5 separate regions of the Homo sapiens genome follow, and all the other regions are linked to region 5. Evidence: promoter capture Hi-C in 16 types of primary human blood cells and fetal thymus (Javierre and others, 2016). All regions are on one chromosome and are shown on one strand. Each heading gives the region's core, a stretch centred on a gene start or on the middle of the fragment in contact. The rest is flanking DNA. Distances are from core to core; before and after follow the strand shown. Region 1 overlaps DYRK3 (dual specificity tyrosine phosphorylation regulated kinase 3). Region 2 overlaps LOC124904498 (a long non-coding RNA gene). Region 3 has its middle 25 kb from the start of CR2. Region 4 has its middle 52 kb from the start of CD55. Region 5 holds the start of C1orf116 (chromosome 1 open reading frame 116).

Evidence for each region. The method cuts DNA at HindIII sites, captures the fragments that hold promoters and counts their contacts. A CHiCAGO score of 5 or more calls a contact.
Region 1: a contact is called between a fragment that was not itself captured here and the fragment with the promoter of C1orf116 in region 5, in 3 of 17 cell types (non-activated CD4 T cells, naive B cells and total B cells). The highest score is 5.7, in non-activated CD4 T cells.
Region 2: a contact is called between a fragment that was not itself captured here and the fragment with the promoter of C1orf116 in region 5, in 6 of 17 cell types (naive CD4 T cells, naive CD8 T cells, total CD4 T cells and 3 more). The highest score is 8.4, in naive CD4 T cells.
Region 3: a fragment that was not itself captured here is called in contact with the fragment with the promoter of C1orf116 in region 5 in 4 of 17 cell types (neutrophils, monocytes, naive CD8 T cells and 1 more); the score reaches 7.5 in neutrophils.
Region 4: a fragment that was not itself captured here is called in contact with the fragment with the promoter of C1orf116 in region 5 in 1 of 17 cell types (monocytes); the score reaches 5.3 in monocytes.

Annotation. Positions count from the first base shown.
Region 1 is chr1:206,647,813-206,650,848 of GRCh38, forward strand. It overlaps DYRK3 (dual specificity tyrosine phosphorylation regulated kinase 3), which reads left to right. Exons shown (of 3, transcript NM_003582.4): 3 at 1-3,036. The coding sequence ends at 1,153. Among named protein-coding and RNA genes, the nearest start is that of DYRK3-AS1, 14 kb to the left of the region's middle. The HindIII fragment of the contact is 1,066 bases long and covers 1,077-2,142 here.
Region 2 is chr1:207,409,297-207,412,386 of GRCh38, forward strand. All of the region lies in intron 1 of LOC124904498 (a long non-coding RNA gene), which reads right to left. Among named protein-coding and RNA genes, the nearest start is that of CR2, 43 kb to the right of the region's middle. The HindIII fragment of the contact is 5,588 bases long and covers 1-3,090 here.
Region 3 is chr1:207,427,459-207,430,540 of GRCh38, forward strand. No RefSeq gene overlaps it. Among named protein-coding and RNA genes, the nearest start is that of CR2, 25 kb to the right of the region's middle. The HindIII fragment of the contact is 3,250 bases long and covers 97-3,082 here.
Region 4 is chr1:207,372,203-207,375,381 of GRCh38, forward strand. No RefSeq gene overlaps it. Among named protein-coding and RNA genes, the nearest start is that of CD55, 52 kb to the left of the region's middle. The HindIII fragment of the contact is 801 bases long and covers 1,511-2,311 here.
Region 5 is chr1:207,030,979-207,034,207 of GRCh38, forward strand. C1orf116 (chromosome 1 open reading frame 116) reads right to left here and starts at 1,778. Exons shown (of 4, transcript NM_023938.6): 1 at 1,601-1,778. The HindIII fragment of the contact is 5,727 bases long and covers 1-3,229 here.

The DNA of each region.
Region 1 (3,036 bases), core at 360-2,859, 380 kb before region 5:
AGCTTATCGATATGAGGTGCTGAAAATTATTGGCAAGGGGAGTTTTGGGCAGGTGGCCAGGGTCTATGATCACAAACTTCGACAGTACGTGGCCCTAAAAATGGTGCGCAATGAGAAGCGCTTTCATCGTCAAGCAGCTGAGGAGATCCGGATTTTGGAGCATCTTAAGAAACAGGATAAAACTGGTAGTATGAACGTTATCCACATGCTGGAAAGTTTCACATTCCGGAACCATGTTTGCATGGCCTTTGAATTGCTGAGCATAGACCTTTATGAGCTGATTAAAAAAAATAAGTTTCAGGGTTTTAGCGTCCAGTTGGTACGCAAGTTTGCCCAGTCCATCTTGCAATCTTTGGATGCCCTCCACAAAAATAAGATTATTCACTGCGATCTGAAGCCAGAAAACATTCTCCTGAAACACCACGGGCGCAGTTCAACCAAGGTCATTGACTTTGGGTCCAGCTGTTTCGAGTACCAGAAGCTCTACACATATATCCAGTCTCGGTTCTACAGAGCTCCAGAAATCATCTTAGGAAGCCGCTACAGCACACCAATTGACATATGGAGTTTTGGCTGCATCCTTGCAGAACTTTTAACAGGACAGCCTCTCTTCCCTGGAGAGGATGAAGGAGACCAGTTGGCCTGCATGATGGAGCTTCTAGGGATGCCACCACCAAAACTTCTGGAGCAATCCAAACGTGCCAAGTACTTTATTAATTCCAAGGGCATACCCCGCTACTGCTCTGTGACTACCCAGGCAGATGGGAGGGTTGTGCTTGTGGGGGGTCGCTCACGTAGGGGTAAAAAGCGGGGTCCCCCAGGCAGCAAAGACTGGGGGACAGCACTGAAAGGGTGTGATGACTACTTGTTTATAGAGTTCTTGAAAAGGTGTCTTCACTGGGACCCCTCTGCCCGCTTGACCCCAGCTCAAGCATTAAGACACCCTTGGATTAGCAAGTCTGTCCCCAGACCTCTCACCACCATAGACAAGGTGTCAGGGAAACGGGTAGTTAATCCTGCAAGTGCTTTCCAGGGATTGGGTTCTAAGCTGCCTCCAGTTGTTGGAATAGCCAATAAGCTTAAAGCTAACTTAATGTCAGAAACCAATGGTAGTATACCCCTATGCAGTGTATTGCCAAAACTGATTAGCTAGTGGACAGAGATATGCCCAGAGATGCATATGTGTATATTTTTATGATCTTACAAACCTGCAAATGGAAAAAATGCAAGCCCATTGGTGGATGTTTTTGTTAGAGTAGACTTTTTTTAAACAAGACAAAACATTTTTATATGATTATAAAAGAATTCTTCAAGGGCTAATTACCTAACCAGCTTGTATTGGCCATCTGGAATATGCATTAAATGACTTTTTATAGGTCAATGCATCTTTGTTATTATCGTCAGATGTATTTCAACTGATGTATTATACTATTGGTTTAAATCTCTTTCTCTCAAGATAGAAGGTGTAGCAAAAGTATCCCAACTACTCCTCGCTTCTAGTGTCCCTCGGCATCTGTTCTGGAGGGGTAATTTGGGATGTGGTGTTAGTTGTGGCTGAGAGCCAGTGCTAGGTCCCTTGCCCCACTAGGCCATTCTCTAGGCTCATTCTAGGTGAAAGAGCTCACAGCAGACTGTGGGGTGGGGGAGCACCAGGAAGCTGTTGGTGACCTGGACAACTGGTGTCCCTGGTTTTCAGTGACTCGCTCCTCTTCCCTTCAGTTCTCTGATGTTTGGTGTTATTATTTTATGTTGTTATTTTGCCTCTGATTTGTTTCCTAGTCACTCAAAGCATTTTACAGAAGCCTTACCACTTTACTAAATAACCCTGTAAGGTACTGATTTAAAAACTGAGTCATATGCATCCCTCCTCCTTTCCTCTCCCATGCCCAAGGAAGATAAAACAGCTTCTCTGCCACAATTGACCCAGAGTGGTAAAGATAGAGAATCAGCATGAAAACTGCAGTTCCCCAGCTTTGTGGTACTCCACGGACCAGCCTCCTTGCTGCATTTTCATAGAATCTCTTCCTTATAAAAGTAATCACTCTCGGATAAACCTTACTACAGTTTAAAAATGCTTCCCTCTTCTCTTTACAGCTACCTGCCACTTCAATGTGCCACATTTTTCCCCCCACTTTCACGTTAAGCTTAATGCTATTCCCTAGATCTGAGTGAACTTCAGTTAGAAGAAGAAAACTAAAAATCCAGAAACTGGTGATAATCAAGTTTTCCCTTTTTATGTTTCTTAATTTTATTCTCTTCAACAGCTTTTCTTTTTCTCTGCTAAGATTTAAACAGTGAGGGCTGATAATAAAACTAATTGTTAAGCCAGTGTCCTACTTACAAGGGTGGAGACGGGACAGAAGCTAACTCACTGCTACTGGGTTTTGTTTGTTGTTTCCTGTCCCTTGCTCTATTTCTGTCCTCTTCCAGAACAAAAGTATGCTCAAGTTCTATCCTAAATGTGTGCTCTTGGCTGGGTATTAGTGGCTCATGCCTGTAATCCCAGCACTTTGGGAGGCTGAGGTGGGTGGATTCCTTGAGCCCAGGAGTTCAAGACCAGCCTGGGCAACATGGTGAAACCCTGCCTCTACAAAAAATACAAAAATTAGCCAGGCCTAGTGGCACATGCCTGTAATCCCAGCTACTTGGGAGGCTGAGGTGGGAGGATCACTTGAGCTGAGATCATGCCACTGCACTCCAGCCTAGGCAACAGAGTGAGACTCTGTCTAAAAAACAAACCAAAAAAAGTGTGTTCTTTAAAGTAGAATATTTGCTTTTTACAATATAGTTCTCAGAATGATCCAGTTCCATTTATTATTCTAGAATGTGGTGCAAACTCAATGACATTGGAAGAGACTCTTTTTGTTGGGCAGTGTAGGAACAAGAAAAGAAAATAAAAATGCCATGAGTATATTATTTAAGGAACTTTTGTTTTATCCAAAAGTAGTCATGATTGCTGTAGCATAGGCTGTGAAAAATGAGAGAGTGCAAATCTCTCTCATTTAAATGTCCACAGTGGCTTTAGTCTCCCAAGTA
Region 2 (3,090 bases), core at 378-2,877, 380 kb after region 5:
ACTAGCTAATGAAAGCATTGCTTCTTCGAGGAGATACAACTTCTTACTGAGTTTTTCTAATGCTATATTTCTAATCAGATTAACAGAGAAAATAAAAAATAGCTGCTAGTCAAGAGATCATTTACACACTTGAATATCTAACAATTATCTTGAGGCAAAAAGGTAAAATTTTGTCTTAAGTTTCATTTTAAAGAAATTAAACTGGCCAGGTGCAGTGGCTCATGCCTGTAATCCCAGCACTTTGGGAGGCCGAGGCGGGCAGATCACCTGAGGTCGGGAGTTAAAGACCAGCCTGACCAACATGAAGAAACTCTGTCTCTACTAAAAATACAAAATTAGCTGGGAGTGGTGGCACACGCCTGTAATCCCAGCTACTCGGGAGGCTGAGGCAGGAGAATTGCTTGAACCTGGGTGGCGGAGGTTGCAGTGAGCCAAGATCGCACCATTGCACTCCAGCCTGGGCAACCAGAGTGAAACTCCGTCTCAAAAAAAAAAAAAAGAAAAAAGAAAAAAATTAATATCATTTCTTGTGTTCTTTTCAACAGATATTCATTCATAACTGTATTAGGCTGGGGTTCCATTAGGAGCCCTGGAGCGTACAAATTAAAATAGCATGCTCCATGCCAGTACTTTACAATCAAATAAGGATATAATAAATTGCTATACTAGCACTTGAAATTTACTTGGGAAACAAAGCATAACATAAATAATATATTCATGAAAAGTTAAAGACTAATGGGAGAAAGTACTTACAAACTATGCATCCAACAAAGTTCTAATATCCAGAATCTATAAGGAACTTAAACAGTTAAACAGGCAAAAAACAACCCCATTAAAATATGGACAAAGGACAAGAACAGATACTTCTCAAAAGAAGAAATACAAGGCCGGGTGCGGTGGCTCATGCCTGTAATCCCAGCACTTTGGGAGGCCAAGGCAGGCGGATCACGAGGTCAGGAGATCGAGACCATCCTGGCTAACACGTGAAACCCTGTCTCTACTAAAAATACAAAAAATTAGCCGGGCGTGGTGGCGGGCGCCTGTAGTCCCAGCTACTCGGGAGGCTGAGGCAGGAGAATGGCAGGAACCCGGCAGGCGGAGCTTGCAGTGAGCCGAGATCGCACCACTGCACTCCAGCCTGGGTGACAGAGCGAGACTCTGTCTCAAAAAAAAAAAAAAAAAAAAAAAAAAAAAGACATATAAGTGGCCAAGAAATGTATGAAACAATGCTCAACATCACTAATCAACAGAAAAATGAAAATCAAAACCATGATGAGATACCATCCCATACCTGTCAGAATGGCTATTATGAAAAACTCAAAAAACAACAGATGCTTGCAAGGCTGTGGAGAAAAGGGAAATCTTATACACTGTTGGTGGGAATGTAAATTGTTTCACCCACTGTGGAAAGCAGTTTGAAGAGTTCTCAAAAAACTTAAAACAGAACTACCATCTGACCCAGCAATCCCATTACTAGGTATATATCCAAAAGAAAATGCATAATCTGATCCTGCAACCCCATTACTTAGGTATATATATCCAAAAGAAAATAAATCATTCTACCAAAAGACATATGAACTTGTATATTTATCACCATGCTATTCACAATAGCGAAGACATGGAATCAACCTAAGTGTCCATCAATGGTGGATTGGATAAAGAAAATGTGGTGCATATACACCATGGAATACTACACAGCCATTAAAAAGAATGAAACCATGTTCTTTGCAACAACACAGATGCAGCTGGAAGCCATTATACTAAGCAAATTAATGCAGGAACAGAAAACCAAATACTGCATGTTCTCACATATAAGTGGGAGCTAAACATTGAGTACTCATGGACATAGACACTCGGGACATGGACATAGACACTCGGGACTAATAGAAGGGGGAAGGAGGCAAGGGTTGAAAAACTAACTGTTGAGTATTATGCTCACTATCTGGGTAATGGGATAATTCAAATCTAAGCATTCCATAATATACCCATGCAATAAAACTGCACATCCCTTGAATCTAAAATAAAAGTTAAAATTATTTGTAAAAAAGAAAAAAGAATGTAACCATTAACAATAAAAAAAGAAGTTAAAGACTATTGACACTTCCTGAAAATGTATGACTCGAGAAATACTATGTTGTACTTAACACTACATATAAGTACACATCAAGGCAACATCATGACAAGGCTGACTTTTGAAGCCATCTCATCCCACACAAAATAATTAGAAAAATGGATACAATGAATCCAAATTAATTTTTAAATGTATCACTGAAATATGTAGAATTATGTGTCAATTATAAATTTAAAAATTAATTTAAAAATACATAACTGAGATTGAAATTAAGAAAGAGAAATCCTGGGCCAGTTGTGATGGCTCACGCCTGTAATCCCAGCACTTTGGGAGGCTGAGGCAGGCAGAGTTCGAGACCAACCTGAGCAACTTTACAAAAAAATACAAAAAATTAGCAGGGCATGGTGGCACGTGCCTATAGTTTCAGTTACTTGGGAGGCTGAGGTAGGAGGATTGTTTGAGCCTGAGAGGTTAAGGCTGTGGTAAGCTGAGATCAGGCCACTGCACTCCATCCAGCCTGAGAGACAGGGTGAGACCCTGTCTCAAACACACACACACACACACACACACACACACACACACAGAGAGAGAAGGGGGGGAGAGAGAGAGATAGAGAGAGAGAGAGAGAAATCCTCGGGGAGAGGAAATAAATAGAATATTGAAAATCAATGTAGTGAGTAAGAGCTAAACCCAGTGACTTATGGAGGAGACAGAATGGGGTAAATCCCTAGGGGGAGGGCCATGATTTTAGCACATACCAGGGTTCTGGATTTGAGTCTAAAGTCCCATGCAACACTGGCACCTAGAAATGGGCTCTTTAATAAATCTGACAGCCAGTCCATAAAATGAAAATTAGAATACCCTTACCACTAAGACGATGAAGCAGCAAAGAAGCAAGTCAACTACTCTGTGCTATGGGAGAAAAAAAGACACAGGAAGCACATCTCTGAACCTTGCTAATGCTATTGTGTGAATTTACATTATCCTGTCTATGTGGAAAACCCCAACTGAGAAATTCT
Region 3 (3,082 bases), core at 472-2,971, 400 kb after region 5:
CCCGACAATGCAGCTTCTTGGAACCAAGAACTTTGAGGATATTAAGGATGTTGGTCCATAGCTTAAAAACAATGGAAAGCCTTTAACAATTTTGAAAGCTTCAGGGATAGATAAAATTGTGTGTGCAAGGGGAGTGGGGGTGACTTTTTTGTGATTTCAATAACAAGGAGGAATTTATTCTATCAAATAGAACAAAATGAGATTTGCATTTTGAAGATATCACTCTCTGTGTGATGTCAAAAATGAATATGAATGGGAGGCACAAAAATTGAAGGGACATCAATTAAAAGAAAAGTGCATTATTTTAAGATAGAGATGGTAGCTTGGAATATGCTGGCAGAAGATATGGGAAGTATGGATAAAGAGGTATTTTGAACAAAAAATAGATGGATCTCAAAGATGGATTAGATATTGGAGAATGAAAAGCATGAGATATCATGGATGAACCTGAGATTTGTAAATTAGGTGACTGGATGCATGATGGTACTATTCAATGAGATTAGAAACATTGGCAGGAACCAATAACTTTGGAGGGAGTGTAAGAATTAAAGAAAGAGGAAAGATACATGAAAGGTGGCTTGACAGTTAAGGACGGGTTTATTTTAGAGAAAACAAACATGAGAGGGGCTTCTGGCTGAGTTAGGTTAGAGCCTACTTTCTTAGAGACTAAGAGTTTTTAAGGATTCAGGGTGGAAGAGTTTATCAGAGGCTTGTACTCCTTCTGTGTTTCTTTGTTGCACTTATCTGGGAGGGAGAGCTTTGTGTCTGTTCCCATACATCTTCCTGCAGCTGCAGGCATACCCACCCTCCTCCCAAGTCTGCTTTTAGCTTCCCTTAGTGCACTTAAATGGAAAGGAATGTGCTTATTAAGGCCCACTGTTTTACTGGGGCCCATTGTATGAGGGTGAAGTTTGGCAGTTACCCAAGAGACTTCCCCACCACCTCCCTCTGTGCCCCAGCTGTCTTATCTGTATTTTACTGTCTGCTCTTTCTGGGCACTTGTTGTTAGAAGAAAAGTGATTTCCTTGAAATGCATGAGGCTAGAAAAAGAGCTGGAACTTAAAGTGGCAGTGTTTGTCCAAGATGATGGTGCTCCTGCTCTGTCAGGGAGGACTGAGTTTGGTGTTTGACATATTGATACTGAAGTATCCACATGGAGAGGCAAAATAAGGTATACAGGGTCTTAGGCTTAGAAGACAGGTGTGAGCTCAATTTAGAATTTTTCAAGTCATAGACGTAATAGATACATTTGCCTGTGGAGATATAATAGAATGTGAAAAGAGCCCAGGATTCAGCCTCGAGAAACTCCAACATTTAATCACCAGACAGAGGAGGATAAACTGGAAAAAAAGATATATATGTATATAGAGAGGAAGAATGACCAGAGAGCTAAGCAGATAACCAGCAGATAATGATATCTGGGGAAGACAGCAGAACAAATTGTTTCAAGAAGAAAACAGTGGTTAATGTCAAATTCCACCAAGAACTGAAAAATGTTCATTGGCTTTGGCAATATGAAGGTGATCGTTAGTCATAATGAGAGAGACAGAGGCTAAATCAAAGTAGGTTGAACATTAGTAAAAGGTGTTGAAAAGGACAGGCCATCTGTAACTCTTTCAAGACATTAAGAAATTTGGCTGAGGCTGGGCACAGTTGCTCACACCTGTAATCCCAGCACTTTGGGAGGCTGAGGTGGGGAGATCACGAGGTCAGGAGATTGAGACCATCTTGGCCAACATGGTGAAACCCCATCTCTACTAAAATACAAAAAAATTAGCCGGGTGTGGTGGTGCGTGCCTGTAATCTCAGCTACTTGGGAGGCTGAGGCAGGGGAATCACTTGAATCCAGGAGGTGGAGGTTTCAGTGAACTGAGATCAAGCCACTGCACTCCAGCCTGGGTGACAGAGCAAGACTCCGTCTCAAAAAGTTAAAAAAGAAAAAGAAAGAAAGAAAGAAAGAAAGAAAGAAAGAAAGAAAGAAAGAAAGAAAGAAAGAAAGAAAGAGAGAAAGAAGGAAAGAAAGAAAGAAAAAGAAATTTAGCTCTGAAAGTGAGGAGAAAGGGTTAGAAGTTGGGGGAAGAAAGTCTTTTGAGATTTTTTTTAGCTCTTTTAAATGTCACGGGGAATGATCCAATGTTAGAACACAGTTGAAAATACAGGCAAGAGTGGAATTGTTTGATAGTTAAATGTTTCTGAAAAATCAGGAAAGAGTAGAATCCAAGACCTCATGTGAAAGAACTGACCTTCAATAAGAGAAGAGAGAAAATGGAAAAAAGAAAAGATGAATGCAGATGGAGGTTCCTAGAGTTGCTAGCAGGAAATTGGGAGACTAGATCTCCGACGGCTTCTCAGTGAAGAAGGAGGTGAGAAGACAGGCAGAAAAGGGTCAGTTATGGTTGGAAGGGTGAGGAGTATAAAGAAGATACAAAGTAATCATTGATAAAGTGAATTAAAAAGAGGAAAACAATGGTAAGGTTGCCACACAAGGTTGAGTCTATTTGAAATTAGTTATCCTGAATTTATCCACCAGTGCAACCTGCCATGTGGCTCTATCTCAGTGCTTAGGTAAGGAAAGCAGAAAGTAACAATGATTGAGGTTTGGGATTTTCTAAACAGTTGCCATAAGGAAGCAGGCAAAGGAGTTTGTTACTGGCAGGAGTGCTGTTGAACTTGTGGTATAGACTTTTGACTGATTAAGGAAGGAACTGAAGAAAGAGTGGGCAAATAGATTAGAATAAGGGGAAAGGCGACAGAAAGTTCTCATGAAGTCAAACGAAGGTCAAGCAGTTTGACACTGAAATAGGTAAGCTGAATGCAGTGGAGATTGTATGTAGACAGCAGGATGTCTGAATTAGAGATTTTGGAAGTGGTGCCATATTAGGACATGACAAAGTCTAGGGTGTTACCAAGGGGGTATTTTGTTGGAAGTATCTGCTTGAAATCATGTTAAATTTAAACCTCACTCTCCAAAGTCAGTATAATTACACTTATAATTTTTAATCCTGGCATTGGCGTTTATACTGTCAAAAATAAATAAATCCAATAGGGATAAGTTTGCATATTCTGTCTCTAAATCCATTCC
Region 4 (3,179 bases), core at 661-3,160, 340 kb after region 5:
AGTCCACTGATTCTCTCTCAACATTCACTTTTGAAAGGGCCATGGAGGAAAATGAACCAGGAAGATCCTCCCTGGGGCAGAGCTACCACACTAGAGGCACACAGTATTGAGTATAATGAGACTTACAGAGAAGAATATAGCAATCTGGGGAAGCAGACCACACTTACTGAAAGTAGCACTGCAGAAGTAGTGTTTATTAATTTAGATTGTAATTTGAAATTGCCACATTATTCATTTCTAAGATTTCAAATTGCTTTATATCTGACAGTTTGTACTTCAGACCTGCCTATTTTTGTTTTACAGGTCCTATTTAGTTACTAATGGATATTGATCCTTTATTTCTCAGATTTGTTTTGATATGTTTATCACATTTTTCTATTAAGAGAAATTCCACTTAGAGTCAGTTCCTTTCCAAAGTTGATTTTGTTGGCTCTCTCTCATGGCATTGCATTTCTTCACATTTTACAGTTGTGATTTGCAAGTTTTTTAAGTAGACTTTTTAGTTTGTTTCATTCTTTGGTAGATTGTATTAATGTTTCTAATTCTTTACTCCTTCCCTTTTACAGAATTATAACTGGACATCTTTTGCCAGGTGACTTTTCAGTGCCTTCCACTATAGTAGATGGAATATACTTCCCCACTCCATTGAGTCCATTTTTTGTTGGCTAACCTGTAGTTTTAAGATTGTAATTTTTTTAAATCTAGTTACCTTGATTGCTTTTTAGAGAGCTATTAGTCCCAATAACTTAGACCACCATTATTTAAAAATGGAATTCCTAACCACAATGTGTGCACCTCATCATAGGAAGGAACACAAATGGGGGAGTAGAAGAAAACAGAAATGTATTAATAGGCGACAGTGAGTACTTCAGCTTTATGTGTAATGTTTTATTTCTTGTATTACAAAGTAAAAGATATGAAGCATTTGACTAAAAATGTTAATTTATATAATTTGAATGATGGGTACATGGGCAGTTGTTATATTTATATATACTTTTATGTATTCTAAATTTTTTTCTCAAAATAAAAAAGAGAAACAGTCAAGGGTTAGTATTGTGTCATCAAACTCATTACAGACCTCAATTCATTTTGTTTTATTTATTTCTGAACAACATAATTTGAGGAAGTAAAGCATACTTTAAGGAAATCTGTAGAAGGGCAAAGTAAAAGCATTTGAAAAAGTCTCATCACCTGAAAAAGGCAGAGAAAAAAAGAACAAAAGGAAGAAGTGTTCTAGAGGTCTCATCTAGTTTGTATAGGGAAGAAAGTTGAGGTAATACAGCTGTGTGGGAAAAGGGATAGATTCATATATACTTGTTCTTGAGAGCAGACATGTTGTTAACAATGAATGAAATGGAAACACACAACTAATCTTTGAAAGAATGAGATGAACCTGAAAAAAAAAACAACAAAAATAAGAAAAAAAGGAAATAATGATTTAAAATAGATAATGAAGAAACTAAGATACAGACATTAAATAAAATGTAAATGGATTGTTTTCTTTCACTAAAGCTTAAAGATTAGAAAACAAAAGCTGTGTATGAGGGACATGGTGAAATAGTAAAGAAGGGTGGAAAATAAAAGATAAGCAAAGATAAAATGTAAGGTCAGACCAATTATAAAAGGCAAAGATTTATGAAAAAGGTAACATTCATAAATATGTATATATCAAACTACATGCAACTAGCTAAATACATAAAGCAAAGTCATTAGGAATTTGATAAGCCTAATAAAATATAATTATGACTGAAGATTTCAATACATCTCTACCAAAATCAAACAGATTTTGTAGAGAGAAAGAAACCCAGGACAGGGAAAAACAACCTTATATTATCTAGAGACAATATGTTGGCTTTCCTCTACACTAAGACATTTTGATACTGGTGCTTTCTTGATTTCTTGATCTTACCAGAACATGTCAAGTGAAGGTTTTACACAACTACAATGCCACTCCTATGGGCTGACAGCTGTAAAGAGATGCATCCCAATTCTAGAGATGTTAACACGTGAGAAAAATGTTTCTTAGAATCAAAGATATGAGGGGTTTTTCCATACATCAATGAAACATTTGCTCAAAAACGTCATATACTTGGCCATAAAGTATATTCACTTTTTTAAAAGGCCGTGTTGATAAATATGAAAAAGAGAGAAGGTGATCAACAAAATCTTAACCACTTGAAAATTAAGATGCTCCTAGATCACCCTTATATCAAAGATAAAATTTAAAAAATTAAAAACTATTTAGGAAAGAGTGAAAAGAAGAACACACTAAATTATTTGGAACACAGAGAACTTTTCAGTGGAACTTGCAAGCTTTAAATGCCTTCGTTATTAAGGAAAACATTAAAAATAAAGGAATTTGAACTCATCTGTGGAAACTAAAGAGCAACAAACTAAATAAAAAGTTTTAACATATTAGTCAAGATACATATATAAACATAGAATATCAAATAAAACCTGACACCTCAATCTAAGGTCTGTAAAAAACTTTAAAACAAAGATTGGAATCGTAAGAGTTAAAGAAATATAGACATTTTTGACAATGCAAAAAATGTAAATAATGGTTAGAAAAAGTGGAAATAAATTGCTAAAACACAAAAGAGAGATTAATGGTTTGTGTCTATAATAGACAAAAAGCTCTTACATTGATAGGTAAATGACATAAAACCCAATACAACGTGGACAGGTATACTGATAGGAAATTTTTAGCAAGGTAAATCAGATTGATCAAGAACATATGAAAAGATGTTGACATTCACTAGGAGTCAGAGTAAAGAAAATCAAAATAATTTTCCGAGGTGTGAAGTATTAGAATGAACACAGAATGATGGCATTTCAGGGCTAAGGCTGGAAATGGCCCCTCTAAGTTGCCATGGGAACTGAGTAAACCTGGTCTTAACCATGTATTGGAGAAGGAATCTATCCACAAACCAAGGAGGAGTGTGGGTGCGGGTTGGGACCGGGCTGACCAAAGGCCGCCGGAGAGGAGGAGGCCTGGGGATCACAAAATGCTTGAGGATGGCACTGCGTCCTGGGTCTGTACAGTATGGTTTGCAATAAAACTCAAAATCTTCCAGCCGAGATAAGAAAAAAAATAATTACAAATTACATGAATACCTACCTAGACAATCCAATTAAACTCTAACAAAATATGTTGGATTTAACAATGGACCTAATAT
Region 5 (3,229 bases), core at 528-3,027:
GGGCTCCAGCTCCATTCCAGGTTGGCTTGTCTGTACCTTCTAATCAGACCCAGGTCCCTCTCATCCTCCTCCCACGAACCCCCCACATGTCCTCCAAGAGCTTTGCCTCTCTGCCTACTAGTCAAAGAGGTTTCCTGTCTTTCAATCCAGGTGTCTTTGCTTCTTGTTGACTACCCAGAAATGTGCCTTGGGCTGGAAAATATCCTAAGAAAAATAGCAGAATGACTAAAACTTGCACAGTTTGCATATCTGTCTCCATGAACACATGGGCAAGTTTCTGTGTGTGTTTAGGCAACATTATCATCTTCCCTTTCACCAGTGTGTTTGAGGGAAGGAGCAGGTAGAAATACCCTCTGCATAGCAGAGCTTTGTTAGACACTGCCAGTGGTCTTTATTCCTAAATTCACCATCTAGGGCAGCCCTCAGTCTGTGAGTGTGGGGTGTTGGCTCTGTGGTGTGAGGTGAGCTCAAGCCTAAATCTCCAGTTGCCAGGACTGGAAAACCCATATATTCACTCAGGGCTGCGTGTGCCAGGCCCTTGAGCCTGGCACTGAGGGCTTCCCACTTCCCTCTTCTCTGCAGCAGGAGGAAAAGAGTCAAAGTTAGGGACCAAAGGGTTAAACCCCCCAAGATGGATAATGGAGAGGCAACTTGCTACTCTGACTCGACTCCTACATCTGCCTTCCTTCTGCAGGTAAATCTGCCACACAAACTGCCAACTGGGACACCTGCAGGAAAACAAACAAAGCCACCACCCTGGTCTGCTTCTCTGTCTGTGGACTCTGCCACACTACCTTGGCTTGAGCCCCACTTGGAACTCTAACTAGACTTGACATGCAGCCACGAAATATTCATGTGGGTGAGGCTCGGCACAGCCAGGTAGCTTTCTGTTTGCCAGTCTCTGTGTCTATTAACAGGCTGAGTCAGAAAGTTAATTGAGTAGAATCCAAATAAACTTGACTTTGCAGCTAGATTATCCATGGGTTTTCCAAAGATGAGCTGGTAGCTGAAGTTTTCTCCATGTGCCCCAACCTCATATCCCTTTACAAACAACCTAGTACAGCTCATGCCTAACACACCTGTACACAGAGAGCTCCATTATCACATGAGCATGATCAAACACACACACACATTGCACCCATTATTTAAATAAAGATCGACACCGAGTTGGTAAAGCCACGGGAGAATTTCCTGTTACAGTCGCTATGGAAAACCAAGATACTCTCCCCCATTTTGACTCCCTCTATTTCAACTGTTCTTTTCTAAAATCACAACTCAATTTCAATTGTTCAGAGATGGAAATTTCCAAAACAAATCTATTTTCTTTTTCTTGTTGTTTGCACAATATGCCTATCCAACCTAAAGGGATAAATGAAAAAGAAGGTGCCTCCCAGCCCCAGTCTCCACAAAAACACTACAATCTCAAGTTGCTACCAACCTGATCTGATCCCAGAATGGACTCAGAGAATTGAGGAACAGAGAGGAAATCTCCCTAGCTGGGGTATAGAGGGACACCTCCCCTCCCCTGTAGCTCTGATTTCCCATGAAACCCCTTCCTATTGCTATAGGATAAGCAATAGTTGGTTAGTGATTAACTCACCTCCACTGGGTTGGGGGCTGAAGAGAGAAAAGAAATACCCTTTTGTTTCAAAGGGCAGAGATGGAGACAGAGGCTGCTTCCCCTGCCTCCTACTGTTTTCTTCTCCTTTTGAGCTCCTCCTGACTTACCTAGATAGGTAAATGCTTCATCTGTGCTGCCTGGCCCCCACCCTGCCACTGACTCAGCCAATCCTAGCCTCCCCTCCCTACCTCTCATTCCAGCTGTTTCCTCAGGGAGGGAATGGGAGGGGAATGAGCAGGGTGGTGCTGTTCCCTCTTAGCCAATCATCTCCTACCCTCCCCTTTCCTGTTTAGAGCTAATAAAGAGCTCTTTAAAAAAGGAGGGCTGGAAGGAGGAGGAGCCGGTTTGGGCTGAGACTGGAAGGACAGGTGGCAGGGAGGGAGTAGGCAGAGATAGTATATATATTTAATGTTGATATAAAGGAACGCAGACAGTCCTCTGGGCAGTGTGCTTTTCCATAGGTCTATGTGAAACAGGTTTTTCATCTAGAACTACCTTCTTCCGCTTGGAGCTTAGTTTTCCCCTGAATTCTCTAGGCTAAACTCATTTGTGTTCAGTTTTGCTGCTAGCTTTTCTAGATGTTGAAAGTCACTTTCTTCCCCAAGCCTAATCCTAGCTCATAAGCCTAGCAATTCCATTCATGTCCACTGAAGAAGGTGTCCCCAGGCTAGGGATGCTGTAGTTGGGCCAGTCTCGCCCCAGTGCTTGCCAACAATCTCCTTGGCCTAATTTATTTCTGGGGGAAATAAAACCATTCATCCCCTAAGAGGTCCGTGTCCTGATGAAAGAGTGACTGGACAGCTTGAAAGGAGAGAGCATGCACTCTGTCATTTGGTCCTCTGCTCTCTTTTGGCTGTTCATGGAAGGTGGCAATACATATTATGAAATAAAAACAAAACAAACTACCAACCAGTTTAGCAACTCTTGTCTCCTTTCATGGACTGATACTTGGCATTCGTAGGGAGAAGAGAGTAGGTAGAAGAATCTACTATTTTTGGGAAGAAATTTCCCACCAGGTACAGAGACCACTCTTAACAGATATGATTTTTGCCTGGAAGCTGGTTTTTCCTACAGGTAGATTATCCTTGATAGGTATCAGGATTTGAGGTATTCCACTTACTAGCATTAAAAGGTCAGGGAGAAAATTTAAAATCAATGTACACAATAATTGCCAAAATGTATTAAGCTCTTGCTATTTGCTAGGTATTGTGCTGAGCATTTTCATGTATCTTTTAATTTAGTCTTTAACTTAAAAAAGTAGGCATTTGTTAATATCTAAATTTTACAGGGAGGTTAAAAATCTTTTTCAAGGCCATGTAGCTAGGAAGAGGCAGGGCAGAGATTTTAATTCAGGCAGTATAACATCAAGGTTGCTATGAATCAGCATAATGCCAATCCGCCTCTATTTTGGAAGGAATCTCAAGTGGGAATCATGAAATACACAGATAATTTGCAAGTGTAATTCTAGCTATTAGATTCGTCCTTTTCTGTTTCATTTCCTACTTAAAGCTATTAATATGTTTTATAACAAGACGACACATGGCTTTCATCTTTTCTCTTTCTGTGATCATGGTTGGATAGGAAATAAAAAGGGCAGTGATCCTGGGG